Linked DNA regions of Homo sapiens: region 1 is linked to region 2. The links are contacts of gene promoters, found by promoter capture Hi-C in blood cells and fetal thymus (Javierre and others, 2016). All regions are on one chromosome and are shown on one strand. The core of a region is centred on a gene start or on the middle of the fragment in contact, and the rest is flanking DNA. Distances in the headings are between cores, read along the strand shown. Region 1 overlaps OR6C74 (olfactory receptor family 6 subfamily C member 74). Region 2 holds the start of OR6C68 (olfactory receptor family 6 subfamily C member 68).

Region 1 (6,959 bases), core at 3,961-6,460, 240 kb after region 2:
TGCTACCCAAGAATAATCTACATTCTGATAGTAATTGCTCGTTTATTTTATGTGAATTAATTACAGAGAAATTAAAAGAACTTAAAGGATAGAAAATGCTTTTTCTTTCTTGATAATATGCAAGAATTTGGATGGCACACCACTTTTTGCTCAAAGAAGTTTAATTGAAGAAAAATTTTTAAATTTTGCATATAAAACCCCAAATGATACCTGTCATTAGAAGTACATGTGACCATATTTTGCATTTAACATGCACACACACATACACACACACAAACACACACAAATCTAACCATCACTGATAACCAGTGCCAGTATACCTTTATCATTTTACTCAACTAATCAAACTCAAATGCTTGATTACTGTCTCATTAACTTTCATTTCTAATAAGATCCAGTTTCAGATCAGTGAAAATGAGGCACAGGGAATGATTTCATTCACTATTCTTTTTAGTGTTTCCATCACCTTAATCTCCGTTGGTACCTACCCAAGCTTTCCCATACTGAACCTCAATACCAAATCAGCAGTAACAGTCTAATAATGTTAGCAAGCCACTGCAGTTTTCCTCTGAGGTTTCGCTCTTGAGAATGGACCAGATAAAGTGAAAAGTGGGATATAGGAAAACAGAAGCAGAGAGAAATACATAAATATGGGTTTAGGAAATTGTATGTTGTGAAAGAAGTAAAGACAAAGCTGTATGAAAAGCTAGAGAGACAAGAAAGATTTTAGAGATAGGGTAACGAGATAGAGGAAAGAATTAAAAGAAGATTAAAATAGGTAAGTTAATAAAAATTATAAGGGTGAAATTTTTAGTAATGAAATTTCTCTGTGTTTTTGTTCTACATACTCACATTTCTTCTTTGTGTAAAATAGAGATTGAAAACATGAACAATTTTGAGTTCAGCATGGCCTTGAAAAAGGAATATTTGGTAAATTACAAATGCATAATGAATCATTGAAGAGTGTTGACACAAAATTTTAGGAGGCATATAATGATATTCAAATATCCAGATAATATGGAATTAAAGAGATAATAATAATAGTTAGCACTTTTCTACATCCGGTATATGTGATGAGTGAGACAGTGAGATCAAGAAACAAAATTGTTCAGGTTTACACAGCTAGCAAATTTGAGATCCAGTATTAAGATTGAGTTTATTTTCCAAAATGTCTTCTGGTACACAAGCAATTGTATACCAGCTATAGTGCATTTCTTAAAACAAAGCAATTAATGATATATCTAGGGAAAATTTTCTTCCTGGGCATTTTAATCACCAAACACATGAAATAAGTCTTTGTGATGTGCATGACATTATATAGGACTATGTTTTCTGTTGTGAAAATATCAATTTAATTATTTCCAATCACAGAAGCATACATTACTAAGAAGGCAGACACATGAGTAAAAATAAACATATGAAAACAAGTCAAAGCTGTTTCCAATAATATCTAGAGAAGTTTGCAGGAGGTAATTTGGATTCTAAGATAGGTCTTAGAGGGAGATAAGGAAATAAGACGAGTTATTCCTAGCAAAGGGAAAGCCTGAACAGAAACAAAGGGAAGGGCACATGCATGACTTCATTAGAAACAACGAGTAGCATTCTGCTATTAAAACCGTGCGTGTTAATAATGCAGGCATACGTGAGTGAAATGAAATGACTGTTATTTTTCCCTGGACATTGCTTTCACATTCATATAATTATGAACCAATCTGTCACAAAATTTTTCTTGTTTATACAAATTGCCGTAGAAGCCATCATTGTAGGAATCCATATATCTAAAACACCTAAATCAGAGTTTTGTCATGTTAGACCATTCCTTTGACCAACTTCAACCATCATACATATCAACTATTCCCCAACAGCACTGTAAAAATCATGAAACTCACTGTATAAAACCAAGAGAAGTCAGGCCTATGAATGCAATTTAAAGGTTAAAAAAAGGAAAGATTAAACTTTAATGGTAAAATAAGAACAAACCTTAATCACAACTTGTCTGAAAGGAAATATTTCCTTTAGCTTTTAGAAACATTAATTATTTTTATCTTTTTGAGTTATATTTCTTCAAAATTTTAAAATAAAAACATTTATATGAAACATGCAAAAAATTATTAAAGATATAGACAGATTTATTTAGACAAAAGCATCTCTGCTTTAACATTTAACTCTTTTATCATTATGCTGAATCAAGCATATTGATACTACATTTCTCTCTGAATGAATCTCTCTATCCCATAATCTATGATGATTATTTCTCACCTATAAATAGCAATCTTGGAAATGCCTTGTTTAGCTATTTTATTGCAGTTAGACTAGTGCATTAAAATTCCTCTTAACTGTATGTTAATTATTTATGTATTGAATGTTTTCCTAAGTAGTATTACACACAGTGCCACATAAAATTAATCAACTCTTGATCCCTTGGAGTTTTTATGCTTTCTGTGCCCTGAAGAAAAATAAAGATTATGAAGGATTCTCAGGAAAATATCAGATCCAAGAACACCATTTCCCAAAGGATGACTACTTCATATGTTATTCACATGTTCTCTCAAGGCACTAAATAACTTTAAAAACAAAATACCTACTTAAAAATAACTACATTAAACAAACAGTGTCTCAAGAGAAATCAGTGTAGATTGCCCCAATATGTGTTTGTCCTCCCATCTCTATGTTTTGAAATCCCAGATATATAGATGAGGATTTGGAAGCATTATATAGTATCATATAATGTTTTAACATTCAATATTCATCAAAGTGTATTTTTAAATATGATACTCTTTCTCAAGGGAAGTGGGGATATTTTGTGCATTAACCACAAAGAATAAAAAATGTACTGGGCCTTGTTTTTCTTGTTTAAAAGGTTGAAGCTTGAAGCTAAGTATACTTAGTGCTTATAAACATTCTTTACCTTAATTGAAATATTACATTAAACATTGACAGACATAAAAAAGAAAACTATTATTTTATGCGAGACTAAAAGGTGGGAATATAAAATGGAGAACGTAGCCTGTCATAGACAAAATCCACCTCAAGCTAAATGCACATCATTAATTCATCAGGTACAACTGAACATTTTATGTCCTATATAAATTTGACTTTCTTTTCTGCAAGTTATACTTTCTGCAGTCCTTGGGATATTGTCTAGTGGTCTGAAACACATTTCATTATAGATAACCATTTTCCACTTCTTCCATATTAATAGAAGTTTCCATGTCTTTGCCTTTGGTACAATTTATGGTAACCTTGTGGATAAATTCTGGCCAAAGGATGGAAACATAGATAGTTTGTGCAATTTCCCGGAATCATCCTTCATGTTCTTGTCAGCATCTCTTTTCCCCTAAAGGTGGAGGACAATGTAGAGGAGGCCCTAATGTGCACACAATGCACCCAATTCACAAATGGGGGACCCCAACTATATTAAATTCCCAGTCTTTTTAGAGACTACTTGCAAAGCTGCCTAACTTTTTCCCACTAGAAGACAATACTCTGGTCAGTAAAAAAGAAAGACACCTCTCAAAGGTGGGCACAACAATGTAGAAGACCAATTCGGAAAGTGTAAGTTTATGTAAAATAGGTGAAGGGTGAGAATCAATCAAAGAAAAGTGCGCCCAATGGGAAGATAGGTTCTCAATTCAGTTCAAGGATTTAACTTGTAGCTTGGCCTTCAGGCATTAAACTGTCTTCTGCTTGGAGGTGAGGTTTCACTGTGGACGTGCCCCTATCTGCCTAAGCATTTGACTACCTCCTGTCACTATCAAGTTACATGCAGATGGTGTAATAGTACCTTATTGTCACTATCAAGTGACATGCAGGTGGTGTAACAGTACCTCCTGTCACTATCAAGTGACATGCAGGTGGTGTAATAGTACCTTATTGTCTCTGTTATCCTGACAGAGCCATCTCTGTCTGGTAAAGGATGGAAGATGCAGCAGTCCATCAAAATTAAGGCTCTTGTGGCAGACGTAGAGTGGAAGTTTTCTTCTGGAGGAAAGGGCCCAGGATACTTCTTAAAGGCAAAGATTACTAATACCTCTCTCCATGGCCCCTGAGTATACAAGGTGTTTTCTCCTCATATGCCAGCTTTTTCTCTACCTATACTTCCTTCAAATCTGGGTTCTACATTCCTGTAGCTATAGCTTCACCTTTTTTTTTCTCCCAATCATAGCCGACTCATATTCAGATCTTTCATCTAGAAGAGTCAGGTAAATGAAGAAAAACGAAATTTTTTTTAAATTTCAACAAGTATCAAACTCTAATTTCTTAGGCCCCCTTGTGTCCAAATTACCACCTGGAAGGTATGGCACCAGCCTTATCTAGATTTGATCTTAGGGAAAAGAAAGGTACATCATTCTTTGAATGACTGAGGTGGAATTTTGAATTTTCAAAGTAAGTCTGTATAATTCCCAACCACTTTTATCTTGATCATTACCCTGGAAGAAGATGAGTAGTCAAGTCTGGGAACAGCTGCATTCAATGACCATACTGCTTTACCTAGGTGCATGGATCAGGAAGAGATGAGGAGGCAGAGGCTATTAGTCCTTTGCTGAATAGCTTGGACAATAAAAGTTGTCAAACTGTAGATGCTCTGAGGATCTAAAGACATGACACAGATAATGTCAAAGATCACAGTTGTGTGCCATAGTCAACTTATCAGTAACCTAAAACAGCATCTACCCGGTGAGGCACTACCAATAGACCCAAGGTAGTCAAGTTGCCAAAAGCAGGAGGAGGCAACATTCCTTGCAATATGGCCTACCCCAGCATGAGAAAAGCAAGTCAACTTTTGACAGGAGCTGCAAATATGCCATGCAATGATAGCATCTGCATTAGAAACATAGAGCCAAACTCTATCAGCAGCCTGATTCTAGTTATTTTTCTTATGAGAAAATGGTGTTAAAAACCAAGATCTGGGCACTGGGTGTGCTTATTGCTACTGGGCTGTTTTTGCTTCTAGACACTCTCAGGTGACAGAGCAAGGAAATATAGGTGTTTATATTAACCTACGCCTAGACACACAATGATAAATATTTTATAGTATCAATCTGTATATATATTAAATTAAACTTTAGTTTATACCGTCACCATGTTTAAAATGCCATCACGAGTCATTCCTTATCAGTAATCTCCCAATGCAGCAGTGAGATACTGGCTTCCATCATCTGCCATCCACTTGCTCAATCATTCAGTTCCAGTATGTATGTGTATTGGGAGAAAACTTTATTAACTTCACTGTATTGGTTATGTATAGTTCCTTTTGACGTTAGTCTTACTGACTCCACTTATTTCTCTTAGGTCAGCAACTTTTTACACTATGCCCTTCAGTGAGGTTGTGTCACACATTTGTAATATAGCTAAATTCTTCCACATTCTATTGTGATATCCCAGATTTTTTTTTAATTTTCACACATTAGAAGCATTCTTTGTATTGTAAAGTTCTACTGGTTTTGACAACTGCACGGTGTTATGTTATTGCAGGATCTGGCCAGCAGTCCGCAATGCAATGAGGGGCTCTTTCTTTATTCCCAGGCAGATTGGCAGGTCGAGAAATAATAGACACACACAAGACAGTGAAAGCTGGGTCCAGGGGGGTCACCGCCTTCTAGTCCCGCGATGCCACTAATGCACTGGATATACCAGCATTTATTATTAAGTTTAGTGAGGGCGGGGCAGGTTAGTGAGGGATTTAGGGTCTTTTGATTATGAGGTGAGATGGTCACATGGGGATGAAGTAGTTCTTTAACATAACATCTGTATGCAGAAGTACAGTATACAGAGATAAGAGTTTACAATATAGTGTGTGCATCAGTAATTTCTAACAGAGCCTTAAAACAGAAACACAGTCTTTCCATAACCTATGATTAGCAAGTTATTAATCAGCAGTAACAGTTGCAGCAAAAGCTGGTTACAAACAATCCATAGAAACAGGAGGTGAAGCTAGACAACCGGTTAGACCGGAAAATATCAGAAGGGAGTATGCCTTACCCCCAAAGAGGCCTAGAAGAGCTGTGGCAAGATGAGGGCGTTTATAGCCCTATCTTATCCATATGAACAGGTGCCCCCCCAATGCGTCCATTTATAGGCTCTACACAAGGGTCCCATTCCATTCCCAGAGCTATGAACATCTGCTTTTCTGGGACAGGAATCTTGGTGATGTGAAACCTCCCTGACTGCATGTCCGTTCGTAGGCTCTCTGCAGGGGGAAGCACATCATGTGCTGTTGGCTCATTCTGGCAGTCCAACCTGGCATTGTCTTTACACAATCCTGCATGCAATTTTGTATTTACAATAATCAGGAGCATTTCACCTTTTATTCCATAGCAATAGTTTCAGGGGGTCTCCCTACATTATGTATTCATCTTTACATTACTATATAGAATAATTTTACTACCCTAACCAAAGATTCCCTATGCTTCCTCGTTTAATCCTTACTCCAACAAAGTCCTGGCAACCACTGATATGTTACTTTCTCTATAAATTTATCTCTACCAGAATATTATATAAATGAAATTAAATAATTTATAGCCTTTTAAGTCTGCCTAGTTTCATTGAGAAATATGCATTTAAAATTCTTCTCTGTCATTGTTCAACTCCCACTTATGAGTGAGAACATGCGGTGTTTGGTTTTCTGTTCTTGTGTTAGTTTGCTGAGAATGATAGTTTCCAGCATCATCCATGTCCCTGCAAAGGATATGAACTCATCGTTTTTTATGGATGTATATTTTATAGTGTTCCATGGTGTATATGTACCACATTTTCTTTATCCAACCTATCATTGATGGGCATTTGGGTTGGTTCCAAGTCTTTGCTATTGCTAATAGTGCCACAATAAACATATGTGTGCATGTGTCTTTATAGTAGAATGATTTATAATCCTTTGGGTATATACCCAGTAATGGGATTGCTGGGTCAAATGGTATTTCTAGTTCTAGATCCTTGAGGAATCACCACACTGTCTTCCA
Region 2 (6,825 bases), core at 546-3,045:
ATAGTAAATTTGTTGCCTTTTTTGATTCATAGAAACTTCCTACATATTTATTATATTAAGCCTTTCATGTTAACTGTACCATAAAGCTATTCTTTTACTTATGTTTTCTCTTTAATATTTTTCATGAAATTTTCTCTTTTTGCTGTAGATATTTTAAAGTTTGTTACTTAAATCTGACTTTTTTTCAGTGAGGCAAGGAATTTGTATCTTGATTAAGAGTGAATTCTCATAGACCAGGTGCAGTGGCTCACGCCTGTAATCCCAGCACCTTTGGGAGGCCGAGGTGGGTGGATCACTTGAGACCAGGAGTTTGAGATTAGCCTGGCCAACATGGTGCAACCCTGTCTATACTAAAAATACAAAAATTAGGTGGGCGTGGTGGCGCATGCTCTTAGTTCCAGTTACTTGGGAGGCTGAATCATGAGAATTGCTTGAACCTGGAAGTTGGAGGTTGCAGTGAGCCAAGATGGCACCATCGCACTCCAGCCTGGACAACAGAGTGGGAATCTATCTCCAGGGGAGAAAAAAAAAAAAAAAAAAAGAATGACTACTCATAGAAGTTGGGAAAAAAATAACTTCACACCCATATTTTAAAATTATCAGAGAAAATCAACTGGAAAGAAGGAAAAAAGAGTGGTTTAATCTGGTTAAGGATTAAAAGTGATATATTTTGTCTATCATAGAATATTATTCAATAATTAATTTCTCAGTACGTAAATTAATAAAAAATTAATGATTAAATGGCTATGCAGTCAACTTGATTGCTCTATAGACTAAGAAATTACAAAGTTGGTTATTGGCTTTATGAAAAATATGAAGCAGATCTTTTATATTGATTTATCAACTTAGGTACACTTTACTTTTTTAAACGAAATGCAATTTTTTTGAGTGAGTCATGAAAGGCTTGTTTAACTTGCTCATTCCTAAGAGTATATATGAAAGAATTCAACATAGGTGATATGGATGAAATAAGCACTGACACACCTTTATTAATGTTTACCTCTTCTTTTGCAGATGGCTTGATATAGATGAAGATGCAGCTGCCATAAGTGATGGAAACCACAGTAATATGTGAAGAACAGGTAGAAAAGGCTTTTTTCTTTTGTTGAACAGAAGGGAATTTTAGAATTGTTCTTATGATATATGTGTAGGACAGAACTACACATACAAGAGTGATAATAAAGGTTAATACAGCAGAGGCTACAACCATCTGCTCAATTAATGATGTGTCTGAGCATGGTATTTTCAGAATAGGCAATGCATCACAGCCAAAATGATTGATGACATTAGAGTCACAGAATTCTAGATGAAAACCTAAGCTAAGTGGTGGGAGGATAATCATAAGTGCTGCCATCCAACAACAAATAACCATTGTTTTGCACACTTTGTTGCTCATGATTGCCATATAATGCAAGGGTTTGCAGATGGCCACATAGCGATCATATGACATGGTAGCCAAAAGAAAAAATTCAGTTACCCCAAAGAGGTCTGCAAAAAATAGCTGAATGACACATGCATTATACGTTATTATTTTGTTCCCAGTTGAGATACTGTATAAGAATCTTGGAACACAGGTAGCTGTAAATGAGATTTCTAAGAAAGATAAATTTTGGAGAAAAAAATACATGGGTGTTTTCAGGTGGGGATCCAACATGGTGAGGGCGATAATGGTCAGTTTCCCTGTTACACTCAACATGTAGGTGATAAATAGAAACATGAAAAGCAGAACCTGCAGCTGAGGATCTTCTGTCAGTCCCAGAAGGATGAATGTTGTTATTGCTGTGTGTTTTCTCATTACTGACTTCTGCATTTTTCCAAAACTACATGTAAATGTCAGAGAAATTTGAACTGCAGCATTCAATAAAAAAAGCAGCTAATGATGAACACTCTCATGCATGTTTCATTTATCCAACATCATAGGTTTTACTTGTTGATCTGCAGAAGTTTATAGTGAGAATATAAATAACATATATGTACATGTTTTAGTACGTTGAGCTCCCTTGATCTATTTATACAAAATGGCCAAATAAGATTATTTTATAAATTTTAGTCAACGAACTATAGAATAACTTTTCTTTATTAATCTTCTATAGTAATTAATTTATAGTGTATTAAACATTTTAACTCATTCTGAGTTGTGCCTTTTTATTGGATTGCATTATTTTTTGAAATATGACTGTTTTTTATGCTGCCAAATGTTTTTCTGCAACTCATAAGCTACATTAAAATAATTCGCTTTAGTTTCATCTCTGTTTTAAAATTTGGGAATTGTAAAACCCTAAAATAAAACATACATCAGGTTCCAAACAAAACATTTCAATTCCCTCTAAGATGTATATTTATTTGCTTTTTGACTGCTTTTTAATTGTTGGTTATTCATTTTAAGAGAAAACCATCTTTTGACCCTAAGGCATCCACGTTTATAATTTTACATATCTCTTCTAAGCTTCATTATCTAAATCTTATATCTACTCCCTGGATAGTGCTGTGTAGTATAATATGATTATTTTTCAGTGCCCTTTTATCACAGTGCAAGACAGTTTTGATTATAATAAATGAACTGCTGAAAAATATAAAAACTATGTCTTCCTGCGTTCAGTTAGCTACTCAGATTAGAACAAGTTATACAACATGGATAAAAGTCAAGACAAAAATTGCTGAATATCCTCGCCATGACACAATATTCTCTCCTTTTTCATTTCCTTCAGATCTACATTCTTTGACTCTATTTCCACAGTACGCATTCGTTTCTCAATCTGTTACTCTCTTATTTTTCACCTCACCAGATTTTTAAAAGTGCTTAATCAGTTAACTTCCTGTGACTTAACCCAGTATAATCATAATATGACAAACACAAATCTCTTGCTATGCTTCAGGCAAATCTCTTGCTATGCTTCTCTTTTAAGTATATTACATATATAATTAATATAATCCTTAGGACAACCTGTGAAGTAGGGAGGTATATTATCTCCACTTAAAAAATGAAAAAGCTGATCGACAAAGAGGTAAAGTATGTGGCCATTGTTTCAGGATAGTAAGTGGCTAGAGAAACCCCAGAGTCCCAGTTCTTTAATCACTGCGCTGTGTTTGTGGTGAACACTTTACCTGAATGTTTTAATTTCATGAAGATAATATTCTGTCTATTGGTAATTGAAACAAAGCTGGGGTTACTACATAGTTTATTATCTAAACCAAGATACTTGAGAAGCACAGCGGGGGCAGTTAATAATTACGTTGATACAACTGGTGTAAACAGGGCTATCAAGAGCAAAAACTAAATGTGTGCCATTCTCTATACAATTACTTACTCCTTGATTCAGGTGTAATATTAGGGCTAATGGAGATTAAACTTTGCCAAAGTGCAACTGGCTAATTTTCCCCATCTTATTGTTTATTTCTTTTAGTATATTGATCCCTCAATGTTTCCTCAATATTTCTTTCAGTGAAATAATAAGACTGAAGACTAGGGACTCTGTTATTCTGGGCTAAGTTCAATAGCTAGGTAGAAGTTGCTGTTGTGTATTCTCAATCATATTGTTAGATATTCACAGGTTTCTAATTTGTAAGTAATGTCTTAAGAGCTTCAAATTTTCTTACCTTTATTAAATGCAAGAGAGATATAAAATAAGGCATTTTCTTATGGTTTTAGAATATTTCCCTCAAAAAGCCCTAATGCATCTACTACAAGAGCTTTAAACAATCAGTGTTTTTCCCTTTTTTGTCTAATCAAGTAAGCACTGTCTTCTGCTAGTATACACCCAATATACTGAGCAAAATCTCCATGGTAGAGGAACACCATCACAGGGCATGCATCTTAATCTAGGCTCAGGGTAGATAAAGCTTGCTAGGAAGCTAATACCCTTTTGAGAGAACATTATAATCAGAAGATGACTCTGTAACTCACACTTAGAACCTCTGTCCTGTTTTCTTCTTTTTCACTATTTCAATTTACCATCCAGTAGTTCTCTTGGTATTGGATTCAGCTTTGTTTGGGTCTTAAGACTATCTTTCATTTTTGATATTTTGCTTTCCCTGAATCCAGTCTTGCATAAATATTAAATATTTAACAATATCATCATATTCATATTGACTCAATACTGCTTTGCATATTTATTTATTTATTTATTATTTTTTATTTTATTTTATTTTTTATTATACTTTAAGTTTTAGGGTACATGTGCACATTGTGCAGGTTAGTTACATATGTATACATGTGCCATGCTGGTGCGCTGCACCCACTAACTCGTCATCTAGCATTACGTATATCTCCCAATGCTATCCCTCCCCCCTCCCCCGACCCCACTGCAGTCCCCAGAGTGTGATATTCCCCTTCCTGTGTCCATGTGATCTCACTGTTCAATTCCCACCTATGAGTGAGAATATGCGGTGTTTGGTTTTTTGTTCTTGCGATAGTTTACTGAGAATGATGATTTCCAATTTCATCCATGTCCCTACAAAGGACATGAACTCATCATTTTTTATGGCTGCATAGTATTCCATGGTGTATATGTGCCACATTTTCTTAATCCAGTCTATCATTGTTGGACATTTGGGTTGGTTCCAAGTCTTTGCTATTGTGAATAATGCCACAATAAACATACGTGTGCATGTGTCTTTATAGCAGCATGATTTATAGTCCTTTGGGTATATACCCAGTAATGGGATGGCTGGCTCAAATGGTATTTCTAATTCTAGATCCCTGAGGAATCGCCACACTGACTTCCACAATGGTTGAACTAGTTTACAGTCCCACCAACAGTGTAAAAGTGTTCCTATTTCTCCACATCCTCTCCAGCACCTGTTGTTTCCTGACTTTTTAATGACTGCCATTCTAACTGGTGTGAGATGGTATCTCATTGTGGTTTTGATTTGCATTTCTCTGATGGCCAGTGATGAGCATTTTTTCGTGTGTTTTTTGGCTGCATAAATGTCTTCTTTGAGAAGTGTCTGTTCATGTCCTTCGCCCACTTTTTGATGGGGTTGTTTGTTTTGTTCTTGTAAATTTGTTGGAGTTCATTGTAGATTCTGGATATTAGCCCTTTGTCAGATGAGTAGGTTGCGAAAATTTTCTCCCATTTTGTAGGTTGCCTGTTCACTCTGATGGTAGTTTCTTTTGCTGTGCAGAAGCTCTTTAGTTTAATTAGATCCCATTTGTCAATTTTGGCTTTTGTTACCATTGCTTTTGGTGTTTTGGACATGAAGTCCTTGCCCATGCCTATGTCCTGAATGGTAATGCCTAGGTTTTCTTCCAGGGTTTTTATGGTTTTAGGTCTAACGTTTAAATCTTTAATCCATCTTGAATTGATTTTTGTATAAGGTGTAAGGAAGGGATCCGGTTTCAGCTTTCTCCATATGGCTAGCCAGTTTTCCCAGCACCATTTATTAAATAGGGAATCCTTTCCCCATTGCTTGTTTTTCTCAGGTTTGTCAAAGATCAGATAGTTGTAGATATGCGGCGTTATTTCTGAGGGCTCTGTTCTGTTCCATTGATCTATATCTCTGTTTTGGTACCAGTACCATGCTGTTTTGGTTACTGTAGCCTTGTAGTATAGTTTGAAGTCAGGTAGTGTGATGCCTCCAGCTTTGTTCTTTTGGCTTAGGATTGACTTGGTGATGTGGGCTCTTTTTTGGTTCCATATGAACTTTAAAGTAGTTTTTTCCAATTCTGTGAAGAAAGTCATTGGTAGCTTTATGGGGATGGCATTGAATCTGTAAATTACCTTGGGCAGTATGGCCATTTTCAGGATATTGATTCTTCCTACCCATGAGCATGGAATGTTCTTCCATTTGTTTGTATCCTCTTTTATTTCCTTGAGCAGTGGTTTGTAGTTCTCCTTGAAGAGGTCCTTCACATCCCTTGTAAGTTGGATTCCTAGATATTTTATTCTCTTTGAAGCAATTGTGAATGGGAGTTCACTCATGATTTGGCTCTCTGTTTGTTTGTTGTTGGTGTATAAGAATGCTTGTGATTTTTGTACATTGATTTTGTATCCTGAGACTTTGCTGAAGTTGCTTATCAGCTTAAGGAGATTTTGGGCTGAGACAATGGGGTTTTCTAGATATACAATCATGTCATCTGCAAACAGGGACAATTTGACTTCCTCTTTTCCTAATCGAATACCCTTTATTTCCTTCTCCTGCCTAATTGCCCTGGCCAGATCTTCCAACACTATGTTGAATAGGAGTGGTGAGAGAGGGCATCCCTGTCTTGTGCCAGTTTTCAAAGGGAATGCTTCCAGTTTTTGCCCATTCAGTATGATATTGGCCGTGGGTTTGTCATAGATAGCTGTTATTATTTTGAAATATGTCCCATCAATATCTAATTTATTGAGAGTTTTTCTCATGAAGGGTTGTTGAATTTTGTCAAAGGCTTTTTCTGCATCTATTGAGATAATCATGTGGTTTTTGTCTTTGGCTCTGTTTATATGCTGGATTACATTTATTGATTTGCATATATTGAACCAGCCTTGCATCCCAGGGATGAAGCCCACTTGATCATGGTGGATAAGCTTTTTGATGTGCTGCTGGATTCATTTTGCCGTATTTTATTGAGGATTTTTGCATCAATGTTCATCAAGGATATTGGTCTAAAATTCTCTTTTTTGGTTGTGTCTCTGCCCGGCTTTGGTATCAGAATGATGCTGGCCTCATAAAATGAGTTAGGAAGGATTCCCTCTTTTTCTATTGATTGGAATAGTTTCAGAAGGAATGGTACCAGTTCCTCCTTGTACCTCTGGTAGAATTCAGCTGTGAATCCATCTGGTCCTGGACTCTTTTTGGTTGGTAAACTATTGATTATTGCCACAATTTCAGCTCCTGTTATTG

Evidence for each region. Contacts are between HindIII fragments. The CHiCAGO score rates a contact against its expected background, and 5 or more counts as called.
Region 1: a fragment that was not itself captured here is called in contact with the fragment with the promoter of OR6C68 in region 2 in 4 of 17 cell types (M0 macrophages, neutrophils, total CD4 T cells and 1 more); the score reaches 5.9 in M0 macrophages.

The regions. Positions count from the first base shown.
Region 1 is chr12:55,255,370-55,262,328 of GRCh38, reverse strand. It overlaps OR6C74 (olfactory receptor family 6 subfamily C member 74), which reads right to left. Exons shown (of 2, transcript NM_001005490.2): 2 at 5,704-6,959. Among named protein-coding and RNA genes, the nearest start is that of OR6C74, 14 kb to the right of the region's middle. The HindIII fragment of the contact is 4,681 bases long and covers 2,870-6,959 here.
Region 2 is chr12:55,487,348-55,494,172 of GRCh38, reverse strand. It overlaps OR6C68 (olfactory receptor family 6 subfamily C member 68), which reads right to left and starts at 1,795. Exons shown (of 1, transcript NM_001005519.2): 1 at 857-1,795. The coding sequence starts at 1,795. The coding sequence ends at 857. The HindIII fragment of the contact is 4,433 bases long and covers 1-2,448 here.